2 separate regions of the Homo sapiens genome follow, and region 2 is linked to region 1. Evidence: promoter capture Hi-C in human tissues and cell types (Jung and others, 2019). All regions are on one chromosome and are shown on one strand. The core of a region is centred on a gene start or on the middle of the fragment in contact, and the rest is flanking DNA. Distances in the headings are between cores, read along the strand shown. Region 1 holds the start of ZP4 (zona pellucida glycoprotein 4). Region 2 has its middle 430 kb from the start of LINC01139.

The links. The method cuts DNA at HindIII sites, captures the fragments that hold promoters and counts their contacts. A contact is called where the count stands out against the background at its distance.
Region 2: a contact is called between a fragment that was not itself captured here and the fragment with the promoter of ZP4 in region 1, in 1 of the 25 tissues and cell types used here (dorsolateral prefrontal cortex).

What each region holds. Positions count from the first base shown.
Region 1 is chr1:237,889,651-237,892,206 of GRCh38, forward strand. ZP4 (zona pellucida glycoprotein 4) reads right to left here and starts at 1,272. Exons shown (of 12, transcript NM_021186.5): 1 at 811-1,272; 2 at 405-526; 3 at 217-319. The coding sequence starts at 985. It also overlaps the pseudogene LOC100130331. The HindIII fragment of the contact is 12,268 bases long and covers 1-2,556 here.
Region 2 is chr1:238,915,563-238,918,118 of GRCh38, forward strand. No RefSeq gene overlaps it. Among named protein-coding and RNA genes, the nearest start is that of LINC01139, 430 kb to the left of the region's middle. The HindIII fragment of the contact is 3,819 bases long and covers 1-2,556 here.

The sequences.
Region 1 (2,556 bases), core at 22-2,521:
GGTAACACCTGAAGTGCTTACCCACAGTGCCTTGGCATTGAGGAGTCTCAATTGGTAGTTATCCTAAGGATTGCCCATGGAGGTGAGAGTTGGGACATGATCCTTCCTTCATTAGTGTCAGGTGTCACTGCACAGAGCAGGTCAGAGAGGACCAAGAGTACTTTCACACCCCACCCCCACCACCCCCACAAGACCCTGAGAGCTTCCAGCCTTTACCTAGAAGATCCATAGGACACTTGAGCAGCTTCCTCTCTGTAACCACCTTGTGTTCAGCCGCGCCTGCTCCTTCAACTCCAACTGGCATGATGTAGTGGGAGTCCTGGAGAGACAGGCCCTTGGGGGTCAGCCTGGATGGTAGCATGAGGCGCTTCACACAGTCTCCCTGGCCATTGGGTCATACTCACCCACTCAGTGACATAGCAGCTGCTATAGGTTGCCTCCAACACCACGGAGCTGCCTGGACCTTTTCTTATCCAGGTGCCACAGTCGGAGTCATTCTGCAGCTCGTGCAGCAGCCCTTGGTTGTCTGGAGGGGTGGGGAAGAGGTGAGAAAACACAGCGGTCAGTCTCCAGTGCCAGAAAGGATAGTCAGCCTTGCCATTAGACCCCAAGGAGCAACTGTCAATAAGAGGAACAAGAGGGAAATCAGATTCAGATCAGATGTAGTTATAACTTAGACTATTTCTTTTGCAGAAAGATGCAACAGGGCTCAGAAGGTGAAAGTATCAATACGGGAAGATAGGGAGACATCTTAGGTAGTAGAGGAGACATATCATTGCTTGGCTAAGCAAGGCAAGTCATCAAACTTACCCCAAGCTATTAGTACAGGAGGAGACGTTGCCTCCTGGTTGAGGTTTACAGCAAACTGGAAGCTCCACGGCCCACAGTGGAGCACACTGGAATAATCTGGTGCCTCAGGCTTATGCTGGCCACTCACAGCAAGAGATAATGAAACACACAGCAAAACGCACCGCAGCAGCCACATAATGCTACCAGGAGTTCCTGCCGGCTGCAGACTCTCCGCCTCCTCTCCCAAGAGCCGAGGGTCTGCCTGCCCAGATTCCTTTATATACAGAAGTCAGGCTTGTTTTCAGCTGCACATCTTTGTGACACTCAGGTGGGATGCCTTCAGAAAGGGGAATTCCTCTAGCCTCATTTGCTTTGGGGCACAGTCTGCAGCTGCCTCACATTAAATACCACAATCCAGGCAGACTTCAGAGCCCAAGAAAAATGTAGTAACTTTTAGCTAACAGAAAGGAAGGAAAGAAAGCTTCCTCAGGGTTGCTCAACATAGCATTTGTCCCACCAGTTTATTGAACTTATTGACTTCAGAAGACCTCCCTCTAGAATTTTGCACATTTGGGTGTGAAACTACCATCTATGAACTATGGGGTCTGGGTACGTTACAAACTCTCTGAATCTTGGTTTTCTCATCTGTAAAATGGGAATGCTATCTCCTGGCAGTGGTGTGCTTGAGGATTAAGCAAGAGATTCTATGTCAGGTGCCTGGCACAGTGCTTGGCCAAGCAGTGAGTGCTCAGTCAACATTGTCGGGTGAGAGTTGGGGCCCTTGAGAAGCCTTGTCACCTTCTCCATCCATTCTAGAAAAGTTTCTGTACGATTAGAGCCTGTCTTGAAATTCTAGAAAAAAATCTAAACTTATTTCCTGAGAAAGGTTGATTTTGAACCCTTTCCTGGTCCTTAGAGGGAATCCTACCACAGCAATCTTTCAACAAATTCCAAAGTGGTTCATTGCCATAACTGTCCTACAGTGTTTCCCCACAGGATCTGGGGGAAATGTGGATTAGGCCATGAATTCCTCAAACTGGTTCTGCCTCTTACAGCTATTTGACAATTTTATCTTTCGGCTGTGTTTCAGGCATATTTCATAAAGATGTCAGGGTTTCTTGCTTGCTTTCTACATTTTTGTTTTCCACATAAACTACAAGTTATATACTTTGGTCACTCTTTAAGCTAGAGTGTCAGACCAGATTGTAGAGAAATTCTAAGAGATTTGGGGATAAATGGATACATTCCCCACTGGAGAGGCAAGAGCATGGAAACTTGTCTTCTGCAGTCTGCCACCAATATTCCCAAATTGTACCCTGATTGTATTTAGACTGATATTTTTCGGTTGACTAAAAATTGTAGTCAAAGCACTGAGAATGTGTAACTAGGTATCTCTAGTTCTCTTCAACTCATCACAGAGGACAAATAAGTATGTGTCTTCCTGGGAAAATTGGTGGCCCTTTTAACCACATGATGAAAAATGACATTGAAGGAAAGCTGGACTCTGCCCTCAAAGACAGATGTGGCTTCCCTGACACCGTCTACCTGGATTAGGTGCTCACCACTGGGTTATTACATGCCATTTACTCACAGGATTTGCCAGGTTGGATTGTAATGACCTCTTTCTTATTCAGTTTGCCACTAGAAGCACGTGAGGCCAGGGACTTTTTTATTTGTCACTGCATCCTGCGTGCCTTGGATGTATGTACTCAGTGTTCTCTGAGTAAAGACTGAATCAATGAATATGCTTTCATTAGTGGCCATGTC
Region 2 (2,556 bases), core at 34-2,533, 1.0 Mb after region 1:
TATTTCTTAATTCACAATTCTCCATCTCCAGGAAATTAGGATGACACTTTCCCTCTCTCTCCTGTTCTGCACTTTATTTGCACTTTGCTTACTTTGTAAATGTCCTTCTCTAGTCCCCTCTTCTATGCTAGTGATTTATTTTCTCTTTTCTCCAATTAACCTCCTGATAAACTGTAAGTGTCTAACAGTTATCTTACAACCACTCCACTTAGCTTGCTGCTATATACTCTGCTTTTTGCCAACAACTAATGGCCTTCACTTCCTCCTATTCTTCCCACGACCCCTCCTTTTTAAAGTAATCTAGGAGACATAAAGTACTTGGTCAGACTTTTAAACCAGGACATCAATTTTTAGGCAGTCAATAATGAAACAGGCTGACTCTGCATGGAAACCATAAAGAACTTCTCTGCTGACTCTTGCCCAGCTCATCTACATTTGTGAATGACGACACATTTTTTATATCATTTTCTTGGAGGGGAGCACAGTAACATTGACATTCCACTTTTTATGTGACAGAATTCAGTGTTATATAAGCTATATAATAAGTAGTAATTTTATTATTACCTTCTGTGACCCTCTCCTTCAACCCTCTCACTCCACAAAAACAAATAATATTTAACCATTAGTGTTCGAATTGCTGCACAAGTTAATTGGAAGTATAACTTTTCATCAATATAAACATTTCTATTACACTTTACTGTTTCTCAATTTCAGAATACTTGTAAAAAGTATAATTTGCTATTTCAGATGCTAAGAGGGATTTTAAACCTAGACTATAAATATCTATGATAATATGCGTCACTTCTGAAGTTGTAAATATTTTATAAATTACTCCTTAATTAAAATAATTAGAGATAACACAATGCCCCCAAATAGTCTGTCAGTTATGCCATGGAATTTGTGACAAACACATTGTAGATGTCAATGTTTTGTTAAGATCAGTATTCTTCCTCAAGAATCACAGGTTCTTTGCATTATCCCTACCAGACCATTAATAATCTGAAGTTTTTATAAATCCTTACAATTTTTATTATATTTTCTTTGCTTAATCATTGTGAATTAAAATATTAACATTCTTTCCCTCTCAGTTTTCACCAAATGTTGAAGCCCTGGATTCAAGTTTTTAAACCATTAAATTTTCAATCTTTCTGCCTCTTATTAAGCATGCAGCTTAGTCATTGCTATAGTCATTCGGTACAGGAAAAAAACTGAGCATGTTATAGTTTGGAATATATTGGAACTATCATTCCAGGCTTTTATCAAGGAGGTTATGTTGAATAACACTCTTCTTTTCTAAAAAAAGAAAAAAATTAACTAACAAAGAAAGATTGTATACATTTAAGGTGTACAAAATGATGATTTGGTATACATGTACATTCTGTGGTTATTATCACAATCAAATTAGTAAACACATTCATCACCACCCACGCTGTACATTAGATTCTCAGAACTTGTTGATCTTATGACTCAAAGTTTGATCAAAATCTCCCCAATTTTTCCACTTCCCACACCCTGGCAACCGCTGTTCTACTCTCTATTGCTATGAGTTTAACTACTGTGAATTCCGTATATAAGTAAGATCATGCAGTATTTGTGTCTCTGTGTCTGGCTTATCTGACATAGCATAACGTTCTCCAGGTTCATCCATGTCTTCACAACTGACAAGATTTTCTTCTTTTTTAAGGTAGAATAGTATTCCATTGTGTATATAGATCACATTTATCCACCCATGGAAACTTAGGTTGATTTGTATCTTTGCTATTGTGAATAATACTGCAATGTCATCTTTCTTTGCTTTTCTGGATGCTGTGCTCCTCTTTGGGTGACATTTGAAGTATATTTCTTTGCAGAAGAATAGTACGTTTTTAGAATTTTTAGAGTGTAAGTCTGATACTCATTTCTATTTATGGTACCTTAATTTGACTTAAAAAATGTGCGTGTGTGTGCATGCATGCACTATAAAACTAGAGGTATGTTCAGAACAGAATATTCTACTAAAAAGAAGTATTTGGAATACGCTATCACTCTTAATTTTTAATAAGATGTTTTAAGCTTGTGACAGTGTAAAAATCAGATTAAACTCATTAATGCCAAGATAATACAAGTAAATTCACATATACAATAATTATTCTGTTCATAGCTATTAAGGACTAGTTGTGAATAACCTCATGTTTTCTTTTCACCTTTTCTGACATCATCAAAAACATGAAATACTGAGGGATTATTTAACAAAATATATACAAAATCACAAAAAAGCACAATAAAGACTATAAATTGTTGCTAAGAGAAATTAAAGATGACCTAAATAAATAGAGATATATAGCATGCTTCTAGTTTGGAAAATGTTAGGATATCATTTGTCCCTCTATTTATGTATGGATTCGATGCAATTCCAATCAAAATCCCAGTAGTATTTTTTAAATGATAAATTGGCCTTAAATAATATGTACGGATATAAAGGACATAAAATAGCCAAAACAATTTTGCAACAGTAAAACAAGTTTAGAAACATTAGCCTTATACTACCTTATATCAGAATTTAACAAACTACAGTAA